Regions from separate parts of the Homo sapiens genome. Here region 2 is linked to region 1. Evidence: promoter capture Hi-C in human tissues and cell types (Jung and others, 2019). All regions are on one chromosome and are shown on one strand. Each heading gives the region's core, a stretch centred on a gene start or on the middle of the fragment in contact. The rest is flanking DNA. Distances are from core to core; before and after follow the strand shown.

The links. Contacts are between HindIII fragments. The study calls those that stand out against the background at their distance.
Region 2: a contact is called between a fragment that was not itself captured here and the fragment with the promoter of NOB1 in region 1, in 1 of the 25 tissues and cell types used here (mesendoderm cells).

The regions. Positions count from the first base shown.
Region 1 is chr16:69,753,122-69,758,506 of GRCh38, reverse strand. It overlaps NOB1 (NIN1 (RPN12) binding protein 1 homolog), which reads left to right and starts at 3,581. Exons shown (of 9, transcript NM_014062.3): 1 at 3,581-3,659; 2 at 3,781-3,913. The coding sequence starts at 3,597. It also overlaps the pseudogene NONOP1. RefSeq lists enhancers at 3,289-3,911, 3,912-4,535. The HindIII fragment of the contact is 4,198 bases long and covers 1,439-5,385 here.
Region 2 is chr16:69,803,267-69,808,853 of GRCh38, reverse strand. All of the region lies in intron 4 of WWP2 (WW domain containing E3 ubiquitin protein ligase 2), which reads right to left. Among named protein-coding and RNA genes, the nearest start is that of WWP2, 44 kb to the right of the region's middle. The HindIII fragment of the contact is 3,377 bases long and covers 611-3,987 here.

The DNA.
Region 1 (5,385 bases), core at 2,332-4,831:
AGAGAAGAGAGAAAAAAGTGGCTCTGAATCAGTTTGTCTGGGTGTTACGTTATTTTCACCACTTACTGACCATGTCAGCTACACCTAGTGGCTTTAGTTAGCTATCCCTTGTCTGTAAAACAGTACCTATCTTGGCCGGGCGCGGTGGCTCACGCCTGTAATCCCAGCACTTTGGGAGGCCGAGGCGGGTGGACCACGAGGTCAGGAGATCGAGACCATCCTGGCTAATACGGTGAAATCCTGTCTCTACTAAAAATACAAAAAAAGTCGGGCATGGTGGCGGGCGCCTGTAGTCCCAGCTACTTGGGTGGCCGAGGCAGGGGAATGGCGTGAACCCGGGAGGGGGAGCTTGCAGTGAGTTGAGATCGCGCCACTGCACTCCAGACTGGGCGACAGAGCAAGACTCCGTCTCAAAACAAAACAAAACAAAAAAAAGCTTTTCTCGGGACGGGAGAGGCCGTGTAGCGTCGCCGTTACTCCGAGGAGAGACCAGTCGGTAGAGGAGAAGTCCAGGTTAGAGGGAAGTGGGAGGCACTTTGCTGTCTTCAATCGAAGTTGAGGGTGCAAAAATGCAGAGTAATAAAACTTTTAACTTGGAGAAGCAAAACCATACTCCAAGAAAGCATCATCAACATCACCACCAGCAGCAACAGCTGCAGCCGCCACCACCGCCAATACCTGCAAATGGGCAACAGGCCAGCAGCCAAAATGAAGGCTTTGACTATTTGGCCTGAAGAATTTTAGAAAACCAGGAGAGAAGACCTTCACCCAACGAAGCCGTCTTTTTGTGGGAAATCTTCCTCCCGACATCACTGAGGAAGAAATGAGGAAACTATTTGAGAAATATGGAAAGGCAGGCGAAGTCTTCATTCATAAGGATTAAGGATTTGGCTTTATCCGCTTGGAAACACGAACCCTAGCGGAGATTGCGAAAGTGGAGCTGGACAATATGCCACTCTGTGGAAAGCAGCTGCGTGTGCGCTTTTCCTGCCATAGTGCATCCCTTACAGTTCGAAACCTTCCTCAGTATGTGTCCAACGAAGTGCTGGAAGAAGCCTTTTCTGTGTTTGGCCAGGTAGAGAGGGCTGTAGTCATTGTGGATGATCGAGGAAGGCCCTCAGGAAAAGGCATTGTTGAGTTCTCAGGGAAGCCAGCTGCTGGGAAAGCTCTGGACAGACGCAGTGAAGGCTCCTTCCTGCTAACCACATTTCCTCGTCCTGTGACTATGGAGCCCATGGACCAGTTAGATGATGAAGGGGGACTTCCAGAGAAGCTGGTTATAAAAAACCAGCAATTTCACAAGGAACGAGAGCAACCACCCAGATTTGCACAGCCTGGCTCCTTTGAGTATGAATATGCCATGCGCTGGAAGGCACTCATTGAGATGGAGAAGCAGCAGCAGGACCAAGTGGACCGCAACATCAAAGAGGCTCGTGAGAAGCCAGAGATGGAGATGGAGGCTGCACGCCATAAGCACCAGGTCATGCTAATGAGACAGAATTTGATGAGGCGCCAAGAAGAACTTCGGAGGATGGAAGAGCTGCACAACCAAGAGGTGCAAAAACGAAAGCAACTGGAGCTCAGGCAGGAGGAAGAGCGCAGGCGCCCTGAAGAAGAGATGCGGCGGCAGCAAGAAGAAATGATGCAGCCACAGCAGGAAGGATTCAAGGGAACCTTCCCTGATGTGAGAGAGCAGGAGATTTGGATGGGTCAGATGGCTATGGGAGGTGCTATGGGCATAAACAGCAGAGGTGCCTTGACCCCTGCTCCTGTGCCAGCTGGTACCCCAGCTCCTCCAGGACCTGCCACTATGATGCCGGATGGAACTTTGGGATTGACCCCACCAACAACTGAACGCTTTGGTCAGGCTGCTACAATGGAAGGAATTGGGGCAATTGGTGAAACTCCTCCTGCATTCAACCATGCAGCTCCTGGAGCTGAATTTGCTCCAAACAAACGTCGCCGATACTAATAAGTTGCAGTGTCTAGTTTCTCAAAACCCTTAAAAGAAGGACCCTTTTTGGACCAGCCAGAATTCTACCCTGGAAAAGTGTTAGGGATTCCTTCCAATAGTTAGATCTACCCTGCCTGTACTACTCTAGGGAGTATGCTGGAGGCAGAGGACAAGGGAGGGGTGGTATTAAACAAGTCAATTCTATGTAGTATATTATTTAATCAGTTCTGTGTGGTGCATTCCTGAAGTCTCAAATGTGATTGTTGAGGGCCTGGGGAAACCATGGCAAAGTAGATCCAGTTAGAGCCCATTAATCTTGATCATTCTGTTTTTTTGGTTTGTTTGTTGTTTTTTTTTTTTTTTTTTTTTGTCCATCTTGTTTCATTTGCTTGCCCTGCCCCCGAGATGGAGTCTTACTCTGTCGCCCAGGCTGGAGTGTAGTGGCACGATCTCGGCTCACTGCAATCTCTGCCTCTCGGGTTCAAGCTTGTCCAGGCTGATCTTGAACTCCTGACCTCGTGATCCCCTGCCTCAGCCTCCCAAAATGCTGGGATTACAGGGGTGAGCCACCGTGCCCAACCTCACTTGCTTTCTTATCCTTACACTCCCCCAGTCCCAGAGAAACTGCCACATACACCACAAAAACCAAACATCCCCCAATGACCTTAGCCGCATTGCTCCATTCACTCCCAGGTGAGAATTCAGGTAAACGTCCACAAAGGTCACAGGCAACGTACATACGGTTCTATTATATCCCATATATTACCCCTTCATGTCCTAAAGAAGACATTTTCTCTTAGAGATTTTCATTTTAGTATATCTTTAAAAAAAAATCTTGTGTTAACTTGCCTCCATCTTTTTCTTGGGTGAGGACACCCAGGAATGACCCTTTTGTGTCTATGATACTGCTGTTCACAGCTTTTCTTGATAGGCCTAGTACAATCTTGGGAACAGGGTTACTGTATACTGAAGGTCTGACAGTAGCTCTTAGACTCGCCTATCTTAGGTAGTCATGCTGTGCCTTTTTTTTCCATTGGTGTATTGTATTTGATTTGTCTCTGATATATTTGGAGTTTTTCTGAGAACTGGAGCAGTAATGCAGCATCGACCTATTAAAATACATTTTAAGCCTTTAAAAAAAAACAGTACCTATCTCATAGGGGTGCTGTGATAACGAAATTAGGTAATCTGTATTGATTGACTTTTAACCATAAGAATATATACAGGTTTTAAATTTATTTATTTATTGAAGAGATGGGGGTCTCTCTATGTTGCCCAGGCTGGTTTCACATTCCAGGGCTCAGGCAATCCTTTCGCCTCAGCCTCCTTAATAGCTGGGACTCTAGGCGCGCACCACTACACCTGGCAGGTTTTATCTTCAAAGGTGAAGAAGGCACTAAGGTCTAGATGCTGAAGCCGATTTCCCAGGTGTCCCCCAAGGTTTGACCCCGCCCACACTTCTCTGGCTATGCGGGCGGCGTCGCTGCGCATGCGCGCGAGTAGAGCAGGGAGGTGCTGGCGCGGCCGCCAGGAGGCGCAGCTAAGTCGCGGCTGCTCTTCCTGGTTCCCAGAGGCCCAGACTTGGACATAGGAGCCGGCGCAAGCTCCGTGCGCATGCGCGCTCCCCTCTCACGCAGCCAACATGGCTCCAGTGGAGCACGTTGTGGCGGATGCTGGGGCTTTCCTGCGGCATGCGGCTCTGCAGGTACGGGGAGCTCCCTCCGGGACGAGAGAGATCTGGGCTGGCCGCCCCTCCCGGAGTGCGTGGAGTCGCGCGGAGCGTTGCTTGGTGCGGGTGGGTCTGAGCTGGGGCGTTCTGTCCGCAGGACATCGGGAAGAACATTTACACCATCCGGGAGGTGGTCACTGAGATTCGGGACAAGGCCACACGCAGGCGGCTCGCTGTCCTGCCCTACGAGCTGCGGTTCAAGGAGCCCTTACCGGAATACGTGCGGCTGGGTGAGTGCCTCTGCCCTAGCGTTGACGGGAAGCTGGGGTCCAGGGCGCAGATGGCACCCAGTTGGGTGCGAGTTGGGGTCTAGCTGCCTTATCAGAGCAGTAGATTTAGAGCCAGCACTTTCTAGGAGATTGTGGTAGGAGAGAGGCTTCCTGGGTCTGGAGTCCTCCAGTAACTAGCTGTATGCTCTCGGGCATAGCATTCAAATTTGGGCCTCGTTTACCTCATCCGCAAAATGGGAATAATAATTGTATCTGTCTCCAAGGTTGCTGTGAGCATGAACTGAGGAATATGGCAGTCAGCTCAGTGTCAAGCACTTTGCAGACAAGCAATAAATTTATTTGGATTTAAAATAAGAGTTTGGATCTCTTGCTATTACTCTCGTCCATTTCTTTTCAGTAGATTGGGCTGATGACTGGATACAAAGATCTGCACCTGGCAGAGCTTTAAAAAGGGAATGCTTTGCATTGTATTAAATGTGAAAGAAAATTAAGCTGGGCGCGGTGGCTTACGGCCTGTAATCCCAGCACTGGGAGACCGAGGCGGGCGCATCACCTGAGGTCAGGAGTTTGAGACCAGCCTGACCAACATGGTGAAACCCTGCCTCTACTAAAAATACAAAATTAGCTGGGCGTGGTGGTGTGCTCCTGTAATCCCAGCTACTTGGGAGGCTGAGGCAGGAGAATTGCTTGAACCTGGAGGTGGAGGTTGCAGTGAGCCGAGATCGTACCACTGCACTCCAGCCTGGGCGACAGAGCGAGACTCTGTCTCAAAAAAAATAAGAAATAAAGAAAATTAAAGAATTGTCTCTTGGCTTAGGAGTCAGCGTTGTTCTCTTGTTGGGAATCAAGGTGATACCCAGGAAAGGCCCCTCAGTGGTTGGAAGTGTTTTAGAGGTTAGAGGCTGATAGTGGAGATGATGTTACCTCCTCTGTTTGTGATTTCTACGATTTTCTCCACCAACTTAGTAGCTCTGTGATCTTTGCCAACTTACTAAATCTTTCCGAGGAAATACTAATAGTACTTTTGAAGAATGGCAAAGGATGAAATGCATTAACACATAAAGCTTTTAATGCAGTGCCTAGTACACAGTAAGTGCACAGTAAATTTTCGTTGCTGCTAATGTCTGTTTTTTAGGAAATAAGAGCAATATACCTAGTGTTCCTTGTACCAGGGTAGCAGGAGACATCTTTCTGTTAATTTCAGGAAATTTTAAGTGTTTATTATGGATGACTCTGGAGAATAACAGCAGTCTGACATGTATTATGCATTAAGCACATGCTTTTTGTTTCCTCATAGACTACTACAATTACAAGTTGAGCATACTGAATCTGAAATCCAGAATGCTCCTAAATCTGAAACTTTTTTTTTTTTGAGATGGAGTCTGGCTGTGTTGCCTAGCCTGGAGTGCAGTGGCACGATCTTGGCTCACTGCAGCCTCCACCTCCTGGGTTCCAGCAATTCTTCTGCCTCA
Region 2 (5,587 bases), core at 1,050-3,549, 52 kb before region 1:
AAAATACATGTCCTGAGAGTGTTTATGTCAGCGTTGTTCATGATGGCCAAAAACTGGAAACAACTCAAATGTCTACCAATAGGAGAATGGAGAAATAAATTATGGTGTATTCATAAAACAGAACACTACACCCAAATACAAAGACAGGCCATGGCCGGGCGCAGTGGCTCACGCCTGTAATCCCAACACTTTGGGAGGCCGAGGCAGGCAGACCACCTGAGGTCAGGAGTTCAAGACCAGCCTGGCCAACATGGCGAAACCCTGTCTCTGCTGAAAATACAAAAATTAGCCACGCATGGTGGCAGGTGCCTGTAATGTCAACTATTCAGGAGGCTGAAGCAGGAGAACTGCTTGAACCTGGGAGGTGGAGGTTGCAGTGAGCCAAGATTGCACCATTGCACCCCAGCCTGGGCGACAAGAGTGAAACTCCATCTCAAAAAAAATAAAAATAAAAATAAAAGACAGGCCAGGCATGGTGGCTCATGCCTGTAATCCCAGCATTTTTGGAGACCAAAGTGGGAGGATCACTTGAGACCAGCCTGGGCAATATAGCGAGATCCCATCTCTATTAAAAAAAAAAAAGACTATTGACACATGCAAAAAAAGGTCATATATCTTTAATCTCAAAGATATAAAATGAAAAGCCAGGCACAAGAAAACATACTGCATGTTCTCACTAATATGAAATTCAATACTAGGCAAAGCTGAACAATAGTGATAGAAGTCAGAATAGTGGTTATTTCAGGGAGGAGAAATTAACTAGAAGGGACAATGGGAAACTTCTGGGGATGCTAGAAATATGCTATGTCTTGATGTGGGTGATGATTACGCAGCTGTGGACACATGTACATATTCAAGTTGTAACACTAAGAATGTTTTTTGTTTTGTTTGTTTGTTTGAGATAGGGTTTTGCTCTGTCACCCAGGCTGGAGTGCAGCATGATTACAGCTTACTGCAGCCTCTATCTCCCAGACTGAAGCAATCCTCCCACCACTGCCTCTCAAGTAGCTGGGACTACAGGTGTGCAACACCACACCTGGCTAATTTTTTTAAATTTCTTTTTTGTAGAAACAGGGTCTCACTATGTTGCCCAGACTGGTCTCAAATTCCTGAGCTCAAGCAATCCTACCACCTCAGCCTCCCAAAGTGCTAGGATTACAGACATAAGCTACTGCACCTGGCTGCCCTTTCATTTTCCTTTTTCTTTTCTTTTTTTTTTTTTTTTTTTTTTTTTGGAGAAAGGGTCTTGCTCTGTCACCCAGGCAGGAGTGGAGTATCACAATAACAACTCGCTGCAGCCTCAGCCTCCTGGGCTCAAGCAATCCTCCCGACTCAGCCTCCCGAGTAGCTGGGACCAGAGGCACACACCACCACACCTAGCTAATTTTTTTAAATCTTTGTAGAGATGAGTTTTCAATGCTACATTGAAAGAAAAAAAATTCAATATCCAGGGGTGAAAATTCAAAGACAAGTACAAAGCAAACATGTTTTCATTATTAAACAAAAATAGACAAGGATAGGCCAGGCACGGTGGCTCACGCCTGTAATCCCGGCAGTATGGGAGACTGAGGCAGGTGGATCACCTGAGGTCAGGAGTTCAAGATTAGCCCAGCCAACATGGTGAAACCCCATCTCTACTAAAAATACAAAATTAGCCGGGCATGGTGACGTGTGCCTGTAACCCCAGCTACCAGCTATTTGGGAGGCTAAGGCAGGAGAATCACTTGAAACCAGGAGGCAGAGGTTGCAGTGAGCCAAGATCATGCCATTGCACTCCATCCTGGGCAAAAAGAGATAAACTCCATCTCAAAAAAAAAAAGACAAAGATAAATGCAGTAAGCTTTCAACCTGAAAAGCTATAAATGAATGAATGAATGAATGAATGAATGAATGAATGAATAAATAAATAAATAAATAAAACAGATCTAGGGCAAATAGTAGAAAAGTTAATAAAGCTAAAGACAGAAATTAATATTACAAAATATGGTATCTGACAAATCCAAGAAGTTGTTCTATGAAAAGTAAATTTAAAAGCAAAAATGAAAAACAAAAATGTTTAAGTTAGTCAAGAAAAAAACTGGGGAAACACACAAATAGCAAAAATTTAAAGTAAAAAATATTACAGACGTTTTTAAACTGAGAATGATATTTAAAACCCTTATTCTAATAAATTTGAAAATCTCATGAACCGATTTTCTCAGAAAAAAATGAGTTAACAAAATTGAGTCAAGACGAAACAAAGAAGCTGAACAAACCAGTAATTATGGGGGGGAAAACTGAAAAAAAAAGTCATCAAAGAATTATTTCAAAGCAAGATGCCAGACCCAGTTGGTTTTATGGGTGAGCTCTTTGCTGCACTCATGGAACAGATAATTCCCATGTTATAGAGACTGTTCCCAAAGTTGGAAAGCACATCAATTTACTTTATAAAATTAGCTTGGCCTTGATTCCAAAGCTGACAAAAATAGACCAAAGCTACAGACAAATTACCACTAACGAATATAGATGGAAAACCCCAATATAAAATATTAACAAACAATTCTAACAAAATTTTCAAGGAATAGTCTATCTTGAGCAACTAGGTATATTCTAGAAATTCTAAGATAATTACTATTAGGAAATTCATATAATAGATTTTTAAAAATCTTTTCTAGAGACAGGGTCTCACTCTGCTGTCCAGCCTAGAGTGCACTGGCACAATCATAGCTCACTGCAGCCTCAGAATCCTGGACTCAAGTGATCCTCCTGCCTCAGTCACCCAAGTAGGTGGGACTACAGGCGTACACCATCACACCTGGCTAATTTTTTTTTTAATTTTTAGTAGAGACAGGGTCTTGCTATGTTTCCCTGTCTGGTCTCAAACTACTGGCCTCAAGTGATCCTTCTGCTTCAGCCTCTCAAAGTGCTGAGATTACAGGTATGAGCCACTGTGCCCAGTTGTAGAAATTAATATAGTAATTTAAAGAAGAAAAATCATATAATCATTCCAATGGCTGCTTAATAGATATTTGATACAAAGTCAACACCCAACCTGGGCAACATAGTGAGATACCATCTCTAAAAAAAAAAAAAAAGAAAAAAAATTAAATTAGTAACACACCTATAGTCCCAGCTACTCCAGAGACTGAGATGGGAGGATTGCTTGAGCCTGGGAGGTAGAGGCCACAGTGAGTGGTAATCATGCCACTGCACTCCAGCCTGGGCAACAAAGCAAGATCCTGTCTCAAAAAAAAACTCAACATCCTTCCTGACTTTTTTTTTAACCTGCAATGATTAATAAATCAAAAAGATTCCCAGTCAGAAAGGTGCCAAAAAATAAAATAAAAAAAGAAGAAGAAAGCAAAAAGGTTACTAATACCCAGCCTTACACCTAGAAGTTATTTACTAGAGGGCATTTCTCTATCACCACTAAAACAGAAAGTTTTATGCAAAGCAACTAACACAAAATAGAAATATAATTATCTCTTAGGATTAACAAAATTATCAGTGTCACAACCCACATAAAAGTCTACCAAGCAGGCTGGGCGCAGTGACTCACGTCTGTAATCCCAGCACTTTGGGAGGCCGAGGCAGGCAAATCGCCTGAGGTCAGGAGTTTGAGACCAGCCTGGCCTTAATGATGAAACCCCGTCTCTACCAAAAATACAAAAATTAGGCATGGTGTTGGGCGCCTGTAATCCCAGCTACTCAGTAGTCTGAGGCACGAGAATCGCTTGAACCCAGGAGGTGGAGATTGCAGTGAGCCAAGATCATGCCACTGTACTCCAGCCTGGGTGACAGAGTGAGACTCCATCTCAAAAAAAAAAAAAGTCTACCAAGCAAACTCAAAAGAAACTACTGCAAACCTATACTAAAGGACTCAGTAAACTGACAGATTACAAAAGAAAATGCAGAAACAGCCATTTACCAACAATACTGAGTTAGAAGACAGAATAAGAAAAGATCCCACTGAAAATAATACCAAAGGTTTTTAAAATTTAAAGTGGAATCTATTTAAAGATAACTTCAAAATTATTTGAATTAATTTAGAAACATTCCATGTTCCTATGTGGGGAGTTCAGTATGAAAATTCCCCATTACGTTAACTTTACATATGACAGGACTCCATAAAATCTCAAGAGATTTTTTAGGGGGCATGGGGAGTAGGAAGAGGAGAGAATCTGATGAAACTGTTAAGGTTCATCTAGTGATGTGATATATGCAAAGAAAAGAAGCATGAAGACTTTGAAAAAAAAGAGAAACTTAACTGCCAGATATTAAAACATAATTTTACAATAGCATAGACAGAGTGATTTGGAAAGGCTAATAAAACGATGGATTCAATGGAAAGTCCCTAAGCAGGCCCAAATACACATATGTTTTTAATATAAGCTGAAGCAACTCAAGTCATTGGGGAAACAGATGGATTATTCAATAAGTAGTGCTAAACCAATCAGCTACATATTAGGGAAAAAAATGAATTAGATCCCTATTTGTACTGGGCACAAAAATAAACTCATGTGGATGCAGAATTAAATGTGAAAAAATAAAATCATAAACACCCAGGAAAAAATAAAATCATAAACACCTAGGAAAAAATAGAGGTGACCATTTACCTCATCTCAGAAGGGGGAATGCCTTCCAAAGCATGAAAGAAAATGCTGAAAACATAAAGGGTGACAGATTGGACTACAGAAAGTTAAAAACATACAAAGTTAGAATGCAAATGAAAAACTAGAAAAACATTTACAAATGGTAAGACGAAGAATAATAACCTTAACAAATAAAGAGTTCTTTCAATACCAAAAGAGAAAAATGCACACTTCAATATAAAAATGAGCAAAGGACATTAATAGGGCAATAAACACTTTTTTTTAATCCTTCAGTAGCCTTCAACAAATCACAGCTTTAAAAAGTAGGGTGGAGGCTGCTCTGCCATTCTTTATTCCTTTACTTTATTTTTTTTTGAGACGGAGTCTTGCTCTGTCATCCAGGCTGGACTGCAGTGGCACAATCTCAGCTCACTGCAACCTTCGCCTCCCAGGTTCAAGTGACTCCCCGGCCTCAGACTCCTGAGTAGCTGGGATTACAGGCGTGCGCCACTGTGCCCAGCTAATTTTTGCATTTTTAGTAGAGACAGGGTCTCACCATATTGGCTAGGCTGGTCTCGAACTCCTGGCCTCAGGTGATCAACCTGCCTCCGCCTCCCAGGTCTGGGATTACATGTGTAAGTCACTGCGCCCTGCCTTCCTTTACTTTCTTAACAAATTTGCTTTCACACACACACACAAAAAAGCAGGGTGGAAGTGGGGGGCCTCAGAGATAGAACAACCAATGAATGGACCTTCCCAAACCCAGGTTCAAGCAAACCAAATGTAAAACTGCAAAACGACATGTTGAGAAAAATGGTGAAACTATGAACAGGTTATTAGACATAAATAGGAATTCATGTCACTATTGCTAAATGTGATAACGATACAGTAATTGTGTAAGATAATGTTTTTTTTATGTAAATGTTCCAAAGTAAAAAAAAAATAGAAAAAAGTAGAAGAATTAAAATAAAGAAAATGTCCTGTTTTAACAAGATGCATGCTGAAGAATCTAGGAT